Linked DNA regions of Homo sapiens: all the other regions are linked to region 1. The links are contacts of gene promoters, found by promoter capture Hi-C in human tissues and cell types (Jung and others, 2019). All regions are on one chromosome and are shown on one strand. The core of a region is centred on a gene start or on the middle of the fragment in contact, and the rest is flanking DNA. Distances in the headings are between cores, read along the strand shown. Region 1 holds the start of ZNF426 (zinc finger protein 426). Region 2 holds the start of OR7G2 (olfactory receptor family 7 subfamily G member 2). Region 3 has its middle 29 kb from the start of ZNF699. Region 4 holds the start of OR7D4 (olfactory receptor family 7 subfamily D member 4).

Region 1 (3,643 bases), core at 891-3,390:
CGGCTTCATTCTTGAAGTCAGTGAGACCAAGAACCCACCAATTCTGGATACGTTAGGACCTGGCTCAGCTTGGCGAGGAGCAGCCTGAGGGGGAGGGGAGAGGTCAGATGGGTCCATAGAAAAGGAGGATTCAAAGGACAAGAAAGAAACAAGAAAGATTTGGGATGAGTCACATTGGGAGCAAAGACTAGGGACGGACCAATGTGTAAAGAATGCCTGGATGTCAGGCATCTCAGACCATTTGCCCATTTTATGACAAAAATTATCTAGATCTTGTAGGATGGAGAAATCAAAAGTGCCATTTTCTGGCCATTTAGAACCATTGTCAAGTTTGTACTGGGGCCAAGTGGTGTTGCAGAAGAAAATAAGGTATTTAGGTTTTAGGTCAGGTGTGAGTTGAATAGGTTTTAAGTTCTTGAGAACACAGGCTAAGGGAGAAGAACAGGGAATGGAGGGCAGAAGATTGCCCATAGTGAAGGAGGTAAGTTTAAAGAGAAAGGTAGAGACATGGAGAAGGCAGTGGAGTGGGGTGGGGGTGAGCAGCCCTGGGCTGTAATGTGGGTAAGCAGCCAAAGCAGGCAGCCCTGCAATTGACTTGCCACCAAGGGAATGTGGGTGAATGATCAAGGCAGGCATCCCCACAGTGATCAGACACCAATGGAATGTAGGTGAATAATCAGGCAGGTATCCCTACAGTGATTAGCCACCAAGGAAAGACTGTCTTCCTGAGTCCGTGACTGGAGCTGGAGTTTTGGGTCCACAGATAAAATGTGTCTCCTTTGTCTCTACTGGAGAGGAAAAAGAACTGGAATTGGAAGGACAGAGAGATGGAAGGGTAGTGAGAGAGGCTGGAGAAGAGAGTGAAGAGACTGCTTACCCAATTTGAAATTGGTGAGATGTTCCTTGGGCTAGTCTGAGGACCCGAGGTAGTAGGTGGAGCTCCTCACGGAGTGAGGGTGAGGACGGGGCCAGTCTCCCAAGGGAGTCCCCCTGTCCCAGGTTTCGGAACCAAATGTTACACACATCCATGTGAAGAGACCACCAATAGGCTTTGTGTTAGCAACAAGGCTGTTTATTCACTTGGGTGCAAGTGGGCTGAGTCCGAGAAAGGGGTCAGCAAAGGGAGATAGGGGTGGGGCAGTTTTATAGGATTTGGGTAGGTAGTGGAAAGTTAAAGGTGGTTATCTTTTGCTGGCAGGGCCGGGGGTCACAAGGTGCTCGGTGGGGAACTCCTGAGACTCGTCCAGAAGAAGAATGTCACAAGGTCAAGAGATCAGTTGGGGTGGGGCAGCAACAAATCACAATGGTGGAACGTCATCAGTTAAGGCAGGAACTGGCTGTTTCACTTCTTTTGTGGTTCTTCAGTTGCTCCAGGCCATCTGGATGTATACGTGCAGGTGACAGGGTTTATGATGATTTAACTTGGGCTCAGAGGCCTGACAAGTAGTTCAAGACCAGCCTGGCCAGCATGGCAAAACCCTGCCTCTACTAAAAATACAAAAATTAGCAGGGTGTGGCAGCATGCACCTGTAATTCCAGCTACTTGGGAGGATGAGGCAGGAGAATCGCTTGAACCTGGGAGGTGGAGGTTGCAGTGAGCTGAGATGGCTCCACTGAACTCCAGCCTTGGTGACAGAGTGAGATTTTGTCTCAAAAAAAAAGAAAAGATGTTTTAAAGCAAGGCAGAAAACCTAGAAATTATTTTTAAAAACAATTCTTTTAGCTGCATAGAAAATGTTTTTTACATCAAATGTTGAAATAGTAACAGAGCAAAAGACGTAGTTACCTATTTTCTACATGCATAACACATTGGCTCCTTCCCCTATGGCCGCCCTGCTGCGGCCTCGCCCACAGGCCTGGCTATAACTTCAACCTTTTCCTCTGGGCCTGGACCCACATTCCTCCCCGCCCCCTGCCCGTAGCCCTGCCCACAGGCTTGGCTCTAACCTCGACCTTGCCTTCTGGACCCATTTCTGCCTGCAGCCCCCACGCTGAGCCCACCCCAAGGTCCTCCGCAGCCAAGCAGATGGAAAGTAGAATTTTTCTGCCTCGAGGAGGTATTACACGGCAGAAACCCTAGTCCCGAAACCCCGCCTGGCCCGAGGCGGAGAGCGTAAATGACGTCAGCGGTGCGCCGTTCCTTTTGTGACGCCGGCTGTGAGCGCCTGAGAGTCTTTTTGCCTTTCAGAGTTAAGGCCTCACTGGCCTGGGTGAGTTCCGAGGAGATGAACTGGTTTTGGGGTGAAGGACGGGTTTGGCCCGGACGTTAGAGAGGCCTGGCCCGCTCTGCTCGTGTCTGCTGGGCCCGCTAGCGTCCGCTCGGACCGTCGCTCCTCGGGAGGAGTCGGGTTTATAGTTACGGTGTCCGCAGGGTGTTTTCATCTGTGCGCCCCTCTCCAAAGGCCTCCAAAGCAGCGTTTGTGAATTTTTTTCCGGCAGGAAAATAATTGCTGCCTTTTGCATCCGCGTTGGCTCCGTCCCCAGGATCTTCCCGGTTCAGGGACCTGGCGATTTCTGAGTGTTCCGGTGAGCACTGGGTGAAAGTTGGTTCTAGGGGGCCTTTTCTGTCTTCTCTTATGCAAACGAATGTTTCATCTGTAAGTTTGGTTTCGTCTTATTGTGTTGTGTTTTATTTTTGACCATTACTTTCATGGCGAAAGATAAAGATGCTTTTTAGGTTTATAGGGTGTGCGTATTTGTGTATGTGAATATAAACGTTTGTAGACCGCAAGTCTTTCTGCTAAAGAATACTAAGAATAATAATTCATTATCTTCGAATGGAGTTCCTAGGCCTGTACATCCCAAGAGAGCTTCTTAATCAGACCTCCAGAGGGAAAGGATGAAGGCTTTATTATTCTAGTATCACAATAATCAAATTTACAATGAACAGGATGGTTGGATTAAGGAGTTTGAAACCAGCCTGGCTAAGATGGTGAAACCCCGTCTCTACTAAAAATAGAAAAAAAATTAGCCGAGCGTGGTGGTGGGGTCTTGGAATCTCAGCTATTTGGGAGACTAAGGCAGGAGAATCACTTGAACCCAGGAGGCGGACGTTGCAGTGAGCTGAGATCGTGCCACTGCACTCCAGCCTGGGAGACAGAGTGAGCCTCCGTCTCAAAAGAAAAAAAAGAGAAACGAAGGATGTGTGCATTTTAAGCTACATTGATTGTATATCAATGAAAAAAAAAAAAAGCTGGCTGGGTACAGTGGCTCACACCTGTGATCCCAGCACTTTGAGAGGCTGAGGCAGGAAGATCTCTTGAGCCCAGGAGTTTAAGACCAGCCTGGGCAACATAGCAAGACTCCATCTCTCCAAAAAAAAAAAAAAAAAAAGAGTTAAATATTCTATACAGATGCCACCAAACTGAATATTTGTGGGCCTAGTCAGCCCTAGGACCCCTAGTTTGAGACCCCTGGGAGTAGGTGTGATCTATACCAGGAGTCCAGAACTGTGGTTTTTGTGACTTTAGGGTTTTAGTCTTATTGGTAGAAGGAGGCCTATAGAGTTTTTGTGAATTTGGTTCATGGATAATGAACTGCGGAACTTTCACTGTTTATCATCATTTGACTCCCATTCTGTAGGTGATTGTTTGAGCCACTGTTTCATGTTTGATTAATTAATGATTGTCATTATTATTATTAT
Region 2 (3,393 bases), core at 693-3,192, 430 kb after region 1:
GCTTGAGCCCAGGAGTTCAAAGCCAGCTTGGGCAACATAGAGAGACCCCCATCTCTCTGAAAAAAAAAATAAAAAATTACTCAGACGTGTTGGTGCACATCTGTAGTCCCAGCTACATGGGAGGCTGAAGTGGGAGGATCGCTTGGGCTCAAGAAGTTGAGGCTGCAGTGAGCTATGATTGCACCACTGCACTCCAGCCGGGGCAACAGAGCCAGATCCTGTCTCTAAAAATAATAAAACAAACTAGATTCTGACCCTTTTGATTATTTTAGATTGACAGATCAACTGGGGGAACACAGATTATTATTACTGGCATAATGGACATAACATCTTGAAATCTCAGGTTGAATACTGTTGCTTGCCAGATACTACCTGTGTGGTCAGAGATTGAAGAACCTTAAAAGACAGGTAACGAAGCAAGGAAAATTGGGGCAGCTTACACATTTTTTTTTTTTAAGATGGAGTCTTGCTCTGTCGCCCAGGCTGGAGTGTAGTGGCACAATCTGAGCTCACTGCAACCTCTGCCTTCTGGGTTCAAGCGATTCTCCTGTCTCAGCCTCCTGAATAGCTGGGATTACAGGTGTGCGCCACCTCGGCTGGCTAATTTTTGTATTTTTAGTAGAGACGGAGTTTCACCATGTTGGTCATTGTGGTCTTGAACTCTTGACCTCGTGATCCGCCTGCCTCAGCCTCCCAAAGTGCTGGGATTACAGGCGTGAGCCACTGTGCCCAGCTAGTTTACATGTAAGACCCAAACTTGCAGATGGCTTACAGGTTAAGGGTTTTTTGTTTTTGTTTTTGTTTTTTTTTTTGAGATGGAGTCTTGCTCTGTCACCCAGGCTGGAGTGTAGGGACACGATCTCAGCTCACTGCAACCTCCACCTCCTGGGTTCAAGCGATTCTCCTGCCTCAGCCTCCCGAGTAGCTGGGACTACAGGTGCCTGTCACCACGCCTGGCTAATTTTTGTATTTTTAGTACAGACAAGGTTTCACCATATTGGCCAGGCTGGTCTCAAACTCCTGACCTCAGGTTATCCACCCACCTCAGCCTCCCAAAGTGCTGGGATTACATGCATAAGCCACCACGCCCAGCATCAAATCTCATCTCTACTAAAAATACAAAAATTAGCCAGGTGTGGTGGCACTCGCCTGTAATCCCAGCTACTCTGGAGGCTGAGGCACAAGAATCACTTGAACCCAGAGGCAGAGGTTGCAGTGAGCTGAGATGGCGCCACTGCATTCCGGCCTGGGTGATAGAGTGAGACTGTCTCAAAAAAAAAAAAAAAAAAAAAAAAAAAAGAATAAGAAAGAAAGAAAGAAGAAAAAAGAAAACCTTCATGTTGGTTATACCTGTCTTCTGGCACAGCTGCTGGCATTCACCTACGCAGGCTTTCAGCTTGCTTACCTATGCTTGCAGCTTGATTTTTCAGGCTACTTTTTGCCTGAAAAGAAATGATTTGGGGGCTGCTTTTTATTAAAAAGAAAAACCTTACCCAGGACTTCTGTACCCTCACTAACTGCCTAAATAATTTCTTTTTAATTCATATGCTATTATTAGGTTAATTTATAGCTACTTGTGGCAACAGCAAGCAGTTTTATGAGATGAATGCATAGTTCAAAGGAGGGGAGGAGGGGTGTGGTTTCTGTCTCATTTTAATGTCTTTCCGGGTCTGACAATGAAGAGAACTCACATTCTTCAGATCAAAATCCTTTTTTTTACTAGACGAATGGTATGTGTTCTGGGAGCAAGATTCGTGAAGTGGAGGTGAGCAGAAACAATGGAGAGATATGGATGGTGTACACGTGGCCTCAGGGGACAGGGACTCAGCCATCCCGAATTCCTCACTCCTCTAGTCTTGGTCTTTAAGGATGTGCACTCCTGGGATCAGAACGATGGTAAAATAGCCAGTGTAATGAGGAGCGTTGGATATTGAGGTCCCAGGGATATAGACAGTGCAACAAGTCAGGCTGTAAGCACCTCACTGAACATCTCTTACCCAGCTCGGAAGCTGCATCAGAACCTCCTTCCAGACATGATATTTTTGACCAGGACTCGAGTCTGTCTGCACTTCCTGAGGATAGATCATCCTCTGCAATATCCATGTGAGTTGTTGAGCATCATTTTTGTTGAAGCCAATCAGTTAACCCAAAGTCCTTTAGTTAATTAATGCTTTGGAAATGAGGGCAGGTGGTTTTGTTTTTTGGGGTTTTTTTAGAGACAAGGTCTCACTCTGTTGCCTGGAAGGAGTGTGGTGACTCGATCATAGCTCACTGCAGTCTTGAATTCCTGGATCAACCAATCCTTCAGCCTCAGCCTACTGAGTAACTGGGACTACAGGTGCATGCCATTACACTTTGCAAATTTTTAAATTTTTTTTGTAGACACAGGTTCTCACTACGTTGCCCAGGCTGGTCTTACACTCCTGGCCTCTTGTACTCCCGCCTCAGCCTCCCAAAGGACCCGGATTATAGATGTGAGCCACAGTGCCTGGCTATATAAAGCTTTTAAAATGCAACACAATGCCATTGTTATTATTTGGAAGAATAATATCAAATATAATGAAAGGTATAGAAGAATAATATAGATCAAGTGTGTGTACTGGTTCCCCTAGGGAAGGGAAAAAAAATCAAAAACATGAAGCGGTGGTTTTGAAATATGCACTTTTTTTTTTTTTTTTTTGAGATGGAATCTTGCTCTGTCACCCAGGCTGGAGTGCAGTGGCATGATCTCGGCTCACTGCAACCTCCGCCTCCCAGGTTCAAGCGATTCTCCTGTAGAGACGGAGTTTCACCATATTGGTCAGCTGGTCTTGAACTCCTGACCTCAGATGATCCACCTGCCTCAGCCTCCCAAAATGCTGGGATTACAGGCATGAGCCACCATGCCCAGCCTCAAATACACACTTTATTGCAATAAAAATATTTTTTACTTTTTGCAATAAAAATATCTAATCAAGGATGGTGAATTGTGTGAATTTTTTTTTTTTTTTTTGAGACACAGTCTCCCTCTGTCACCCAGGCTGGAGTGCAGTGGCACGATCTCGGCTTACTGCAACCTCTGCCTCTCAGGTGCAAGCGATTCTCCTGCCTCAGCCTCCCAAGTAGCTGGGGTTACAGGCGTGCACCACACCACCACACCCAGCTAATTTTTTTGTATTTGTAGTAAAGACGGGGTTTCGCCATATTGGCCAGGCTGATCTCAAACTCTTGATCTCAGGTGATCCACCTGCCTCAGCCTCCCAAAGTGCTGGGATTATAGGCTTGAGCCACCACGCCTGGCCTTGTGTGAATCTTATATCGTTGACTGATGGGTAGCCAGCCCTTCATTATTCTCCGTACTTTCTGAATAATTCACACATGAATAATCTATAATAAAAATGAATATATCTGTGC
Region 3 (3,613 bases), core at 568-3,067, 260 kb after region 1:
ACTGCTTACTCTTTGGGTCCACGCTGCTTTTATGAGCTGTAACACTCACCGCGAAGGTCTGCAGCTTCACTCCTGAAGCCAGCGAGACCACGAGCCTACTGGGAGGAACGAACAACTCCAAACGCGCTGCTTTAAGAGCTGTAACACTCACAGTGAAGGTCTGCAGCTTCACTCCTGAGCCAGCGAGACCATGGACCCACCAGAAGGAAGAAACTCCGAACACATCCGAACATCAGAAGGAACAAACTCCAGACGCGCCACTTAAGAGCTGTAACACTCACCGCGAGGGTCTGCGGCTTCATTCTTGAAGTCAGTGAGACCAAGAACCCACCAATTCTGGACACAAGGTGGCTCCTGTGGTGGGTCCACATTGTCAAACCTTCATAGCTCAGTAAGTGTTGAGGGAAATAGGGAAAAGAGATGATTGAGGGGAAAGGCATTGACTTGTTAATCATAGGGCAGGAGAAACCCTGTGATGTCCACGGAGAAGGGGCTGTTGAGGCTGATTTCTTGGAAGGGAGAATGGCTAGACTACTTGCTTAAATAGCCATTGTATAGCGAGCTTTAACTTTGCCTGTATATTACTTGGGTAGATGACTGATGGAGGTTATAGGAAGGGCTACTCTTTGTTGGCCTGGGGCACTGTTTGATATCTTAGCGCTGCCCTGGATCACTCTGTGTGGTCTTGGAGTGACCAATCTGCATTGTACAAATGGATGCTCCAAGGTACATGATAGGAATTGCAATTCTCCCTGGGGCCTGGAGGGAAAGATGGATTTAGGGCAGGCAAAACTAAGGACAAGGAAACAGGGTTGGGGATTCCTCATATCATTGGAATTGAGGGGAACAACTCAGGAATATTTTTGCAGAAGAAAAACAAAGGCCAGGAGAGGTAAAGGAATGAGGTCAATGTCTTGCTAACAATCTCAGCTTAAGGACGAGACTTGACTTCAAGTGAAATGAAGGGAATTATGGAAAAGAATCCTGCAGGTTTCAGTAGGAGCTGTAGGTGCCTTGCAGTGAAGTCCTGGTCACTTCTAGTTCTTTTCACCTACTACCTGACCCAAGAACTTCAGAGGCCCTCAGCCTAGATCAAGCCTCTCTGAATTCTTCTCTGTGACCCTCACTTGCTTGGAAACATCTCCTGCCTCTCCAGAAAGACTTATCCTTCCCCATCCTTCTTTACCCTTATCCATGATTCTAAGTAGACACCTTCAAGAGACAAGCGTCTGTGTTCCCTGGAATGGAAGGCCATGGTGTATAACAACTAGGGTACGATGGGTGAGTGAGGGAAAGTGAAGGGCTCAGGCAAGCCCAACATCCAGTCTCCTCTTGACATCGTATCCTCTGGGGAACACGAGGGAAGCATTGAAACCTGCAGGATTCTTTTCCATAATTCCCTTCATTTCACTTGAAGGTCAAGTCTCATCCTTAAGCTGAGATTGTTAGCAAGACATTGACCTCATTCCTTTACCTCTCCTGGCCTTTGTATTTCTTCTGCAAAAATATTCCTGAGTTGTTCCCCTCAATTCCAATGATATGAAGAATCCCCAACCCTGTTCCCTTATCCTTAGTTTTGCCTGCCCTAAATCCATCTTTCCCTCCAGGCCCCAGGGAGAATTGCAATTCCTATCATGTTACTCCTTTGATTGCCGTTCCTTCACAGCCCCATCCTTTATGGATTATACTTTTCAAAGTTCTTAGACATGTCATCCCTGCCCACCTCTCCAACATCATCCTCATCGTTTCTATCTAACACTTTGTACTTAAGCAGCAGCAAAGGGCTAAGAGAACTCTGTCCCATGCTGCTTCTTGCTTCTAGGCTTATTCCCTTGCTTATATCTCTGCCAGAAATGCCCCTGTGCAACCATTCACCTGGGTAACTCCTTGCCCAGGTATTCCTTCCTCCAGGACTCCTTCCCTGAATGCATTACTCCAGGCTGGATTGAGGGTTCCTCTCTGTACTCCACTCTGTACATCGTTTTATTTTAGCACTTAATTCACTGTGTTACAATGATCTGTTTCTGAATCCATCTTCTGGAAGGTGGAACCATAAGAAAAAAAAGACCACATCATTAATCTTTGTATCCCCAACAGCTAACACTTAGCCTGGCCCAAAGAAGACCCTCTTGCAGAATGGCTGTTAGCACTTTTTCAGTGACTGACAACCTAGTTGTCAACCTAGTTCAATTCTTCTGTACTTCCCAGCACGGCTCAACAAAAATTATGCACCAGGCCACGTGCTGTGGCTCATGCCTGTAATCCCAGCACTTTGGGAGGCCGAGGTGGGCAGATCACCTGAGGTTGGGAGTTGAAGACCAGCCTGGCCAACATGGTAAAACTAACTAGTTTTTGTAAAAAACTAGCTAGTTAGTTTTGTATTTTTACAAAAACTAGCTGGGCATGGTGGTGCACACCTGTAATCCCAGCTACTCAGGAGGCTGAGGCAGGAGAATTGTTTGAACCCGGGAGGCAGAGGTTATAGTGAGCCGAGATTGCGCCACTGAACTCTCCAGCCTGGGTGACAGCTCAAGACTCTGTCTCAAAAGAAAAGAAAACAAACAAAAACCCAACAACAACAAAAAAAATTGTGCACCAACACTAGACACTAGAAACAGATTAGGACATATTTATTATGTGGATGGAAAAAGAGAATCATATAAGTGTCAAATGACTGTATCTTTCTGGTCTCTAATTTTGAAACCCTGGTTCTAAGGTAGAAAGTTTTTAATGTGCGGTCAGCTTCTTAAGATGAATGTTATTACTGGTAATGTCATGACCTATTTGAATCAGAATTTGGCTGCCACCATAATTCCAAGTGGGACTTAAGGCAACAAGTAACCCTTCCTTCCTTCCTTCCTTCCTTCCTTCCTTCCTTCCTTCCTTCCTTCCTTTCTTCCTTTCCTTCCTTCCTTCTTTCCTTCCTTCCCTTCCTTCCTCCTTCCCTCCCTCCCTTCCTCTTTCCTTCCTTGAAAACCTAAATCCACTCATCTTGCAATATTTTGTCTAGCTATTATCTCTGCTTTCATATTTTCTCACTGCTCAGACATAGTTGTCTGACCTTCTTCAGTCTCAGTTGTGTCTTAGACAAGGAAGATGACCCTGACCTTTTCTTAAGTTCACTGAACCTTATATGTGTTAGAGCAGGTGCAGACCATTTTATCTCTAAGGTCTAAAGTTGCTCTTGGTAGATTTGATGATTCTAAAGCAGAGAAAAAGGGAATGGGTAAGCCTCTGAGAGGCCAATGAACAGGGGTTAGTCAACGTTATGAAATGTTGCCTATAACAAATGACAGAATGTAGGATTCCTAAGTTTTGCTATTTTAAAGCTTTTGTATCCAATTATTCACCTCAAGAAATAAAAAAGCAGAGAGATTTTGGAGCCTGTTCAGCATCTATTTCATGTTTCTTCCCTTCCTTAACTGTCTAGCTGATGTGTCAGCAACATGGACTTGGGAAATCAAACAAGAGTTTCAGAATTTTTACTCCTGGGATTTTCCCAAGACCTAGAGGATCAACAGTTGCTCTTTGCACTGTTTCTGTCCATGTACCTGGTCACCGTTCTGGGGAACCTGCTCATCATCCTGGCCATCAGCTCTGACTCCCACCTCCA
Region 4 (3,652 bases), core at 811-3,310, 320 kb after region 1:
CCTGGCGCGGTGGCTCACGCCTGTAATCCCAGCACTTTGAGAGGCAGAGGAGAGCGGATCACGGGGTCAGGAGATCGAGACCACCCTGGCTAACACGGTGATAACCCCGTCTCTACTAAAAATACAAAAAAGTAGCCGGGCGTCGTGGCAGGCGCCTGTAATCCCAGCTACTCGGGAGGCTGAGGCAGGAGAATGGCGTAAACCCGGGAGGCGGAGCTTGCAGCGAGCGGAGATCGCGCCACTGCATTCCAGCCTGGGTGACAGAGCGAGACTCCGTCTCAAAAAAAAAAAAAAAAAAAAAAAAAAAAGGGCAAAAGACCTGAAAGACATTTGTCAAAAGAAGACACACAGATGGACAACATACATTTTTTTTTTCTTGAGACGAGTCTCGCTCTGTCACCCAGGCTGGAGTGCAGTGGCGCGATCTCGGCTCACTGCAAGCTCCCCCTCCCGGGTTGAAGTCATTCTCCTGCCTCAGCCTCCCAAGTAGCTGGGACTACAGGCGCCCGCCACCACGCCCGGCTAATTTTTTGTATTTTTAGTAGGGACGGGGTTTCACCTTTAGCCAGGATGGTCTCGATCGCCTGACCCTGTGATCCGCCCGTCTAGGCCTCCCAAAGTGCTGGGATTACAGGCGTGAGCCACTGCGCCCGGCCCAACATACATTTTTAAAAGGTTTAACTTCACTAATCATCAGGGAAATGCAAATGAAAACCACAATGAGATATCACCTCACTTCATCTCAAATGGCTATTACTAAAAAGACAAAAGATAGTAAGTGCTGGCCAGGATATGAAGAAATGGAAACCCTTCTACACTGTTGGTAGGAATGTAAATTAGTACAACCATTATGGAAAAGAGTATGGAGGTTCCTCAAAAACTTAAAAATAGAACTACCATATGATCCAGCAGTCCACTACTGGGTATATATCAATAAGAAACGAAGTCAGTGTGTGGAAGGGATATCGCACTCCCATGTTTATTGGAGCATTATTCACAGTAGCCAAGACACAGAATCAACCTAGTTGTCTGCAAATAAATGAATGGATAAAGAAAATGTAGTATATATACACAATGGAATATGATTCATCCATAAAACACAAGGAAATCCTGTCATTTGCAACATGGATGAACTCAGAGAACATTGTGTTAAGTGAAATAAGGGAGGCACAGAAAGACAAATATCACATGATCTCACTCATATGTGGAATCTAACGAAGGTGATCTCAGAGAAATAGAATCCAGATTTCAAAGAAGTAGAATGTTGGTTACCAGACCCAGAGTGGTTTGGGGTTGAGGAGTAGTGTTGGTGTTGTGGAGATGTTAGTAAAAGAATACAAAATTACAGCTATATAAGAGAAGTAAGTTCAAGAGATCTATTGTACAGCAGGATGACTTTAGTTAATGATGATATATATGATATTCTTTGAAAATGCTAAGAGAGTGGATATTAAGTGTTCTCACCAGGATAACGACTCTGTGAGATAATGCGTATGTTAATTAGATACATTGAATGTCCACAATGTATATATATTTCCAAATATCAAGTTGTACATGATACATACATATAATTCTATAATTTAAAAAAATATATAAAAATAATTTGAAAAAATATTTAAAAAGAAAAGACATTTTTGTTTCCATGAATTTTCAACACCGAGGGATCCATAAAATCTCCAAAGACTCTTCAAGGGAGTCACATCGCTTGGAGATGATTCCTGAGTTTAGTTCCTTGCAGAAATTAATCTTTCCTTAGGGCAAAACTTGTGACTTTCAAATTAAACCGAAGAAAGAATTTCTTCTTGGGGGAAATAAATCCATCATGCCCTACCACTGCCTATTTCATCACAAAATTAACTGAAAAATTTCCATTCTATCATCTTCTTACTACTCAAAGGGAGCCAAACTCTTTGGAGAGTGGGAAGAAAATAGAACAATTTATTTAATAAGGTGCTCTGAGAATTCAACTCTTGAGACACTGGAAACTTAAAATGTGCCCCTGTTTAAACAACCTCACCTGTAATTCTCTGCTCCCAGCCTTTGGAAAAAACCCAGTACGGCTTCCTAGGAACAGATCGTGTAGAAGAGAAAACTTCAGTGATAACCATCAGAGTTAGTGTGACCCAGTGAGGGCTGGTGGGGTAAGAAGGAAAAGAGGAGAGAGAATAAGTACTAGCCTTCACAGTAATGAGCCTGGAAAGTCCCATACTTATTGAGTCTATGAAGGTGAAGTCCCTGTACTTTGATGGTACTTTAGTTTTCACAGAAACCAGTGTCTCCCACCTTCTGTTCTCACTCCTTGGAATCCAGGGCCCGTCTTTAATAAGTTATTTTCCGAACAGTCTCTAACTCTCCTGCACTCTTTCCTATAAACTTTAGTCTCCTGTTGAATTTCGTACATCCAGTTACTTATTCATTAACTACTCACGGAAGATCTACTATGCTCAAGGTATTGTCTATGTGTTCCTAATGTGATTGGATTTTTCTATTATATTCTATATTTTTCCTGGCAGATTATTGGTTACCAGACCCAGAGTGGTCTGGGGATTGGGGGTAGGGTTGATGTGGTGGAGATGGTGACTTATTTACAGCACTTACTAGCTGTTATGTTTTTGCTATTTCAACTTAGTATCCATGATATCATATAGAAATAATACAATTATTTCTGACATTCAACATGCAGTCCAATTTTTTTTCTCATATTAAAAATCCCTTGGCTGAACGTAGTGGCTCACATCTATAATCCCAGCACTTTGGGAGGCCGAGGCGGGCAGATCACTTGAGGCCAGGACCCTGAGACCAGCCTGGCTAACATGGCAAAACCCTGTCTCTACTAAACAATAACAAAAAAAGAAAGCCTGACACCTTAGCTTACACCTGCAATCCCAGTTACTCGGGAGACTGAGATGGGATAATTGCTTGAACCCAGGAGGCAGAGGTTGCAGTAAGCTGAGACTGCACCCCGCACTCCAGCCCAGGTGACAAAGTGACACCATGTCCCCCCCAAAAAAAAATCCATTTGCATGTTCACCAAAATATCAAAAGATTGAAATTGTAGTAGACGGCCTTTGGTGTATCCAGGAATTTAAACCCCTTACTGTTTTAACATAGCATATCTTGTTGCCTGTGGTATTAAAACAACCATTGTTTATCGGGTTAAGCAATTGTCCTTGGTTTCTTCCTTTATTGAGAGGATCTGCCCTGGTTGATAATCTTTTTCAAATGCATTTTTTCTATTGTGATTTTGTTTATGATTTCTCTTTACTGACCTGTTTTTGTGATGAATTATGCAGACATTCTTACATTAAACCTGCTTCCATTGTTAGAGCTGGTATTACTACTTCATTTATCATTATTTTAAAAGAGATATGAATATGTTATTTACTGTATTATTAAATTTATGTCTATATTCAAACATGTCTTAAACTTGAAGATTTCTATTTTGTGTTATAGTTGATGCTTTGGTCCCAGTCTTTATAGAACATTTCAATTTGTACTTGCTCAGAATCAGTAATGTGCTGGGCACCACGTAAATCCTTGTTAAATGATGAGACAAAACAATCGCAACCACTGTCTAAAACTAAATATAAGTTGACCAATGTGAAAGGGACAAGGAGGAAGAATATAGGATGTTCTATTTCTAGTCATCAAA

The links. Contacts are between HindIII fragments. The study calls those that stand out against the background at their distance.
Region 2: a contact is called between the fragment with the promoter of OR7G2 here and the fragment with the promoter of ZNF426 in region 1, in 1 of the 25 tissues and cell types used here (H1 embryonic stem cells).
Region 3: a contact is called between a fragment that was not itself captured here and the fragment with the promoter of ZNF426 in region 1, in 2 of the 25 tissues and cell types used here (liver and spleen).
Region 4: the fragment with the promoter of OR7D4 here is called in contact with the fragment with the promoter of ZNF426 in region 1 in 1 of the 25 tissues and cell types used here (mesendoderm cells).

What each region holds. Positions count from the first base shown.
Region 1 is chr19:9,537,142-9,540,784 of GRCh38, reverse strand. It overlaps ZNF426 (zinc finger protein 426), which reads left to right and starts at 2,140. Exons shown (of 8, transcript NM_024106.3): 1 at 2,140-2,210; 2 at 2,440-2,526. It overlaps ZNF426-DT (ZNF426 divergent transcript), which reads right to left and starts at 2,119. Exons shown (of 2, transcript NR_134921.1): 1 at 1,787-2,119; 2 at 1,055-1,379. RefSeq lists enhancers at 1-1,118, 1,773-1,842, 2,043-2,092, 2,099-2,834. The HindIII fragment of the contact is 15,089 bases long and covers 1-3,643 here.
Region 2 is chr19:9,106,024-9,109,416 of GRCh38, reverse strand. OR7G2 (olfactory receptor family 7 subfamily G member 2) reads left to right here and starts at 1,942. Exons shown (of 2, transcript NM_001005193.2): 1 at 1,942-2,103. The HindIII fragment of the contact is 11,921 bases long and covers 1-3,393 here.
Region 3 is chr19:9,279,203-9,282,815 of GRCh38, reverse strand. It overlaps the pseudogene OR7H1P. Among named protein-coding and RNA genes, the nearest start is that of ZNF699, 29 kb to the left of the region's middle. The HindIII fragment of the contact is 5,089 bases long and covers 1-3,613 here.
Region 4 is chr19:9,217,997-9,221,648 of GRCh38, reverse strand. It overlaps OR7D4 (olfactory receptor family 7 subfamily D member 4), which reads left to right and starts at 2,060. Exons shown (of 2, transcript NM_001005191.3): 1 at 2,060-2,449. It also overlaps a transcript of OR7E24 not described here. The HindIII fragment of the contact is 21,358 bases long and covers 647-3,652 here.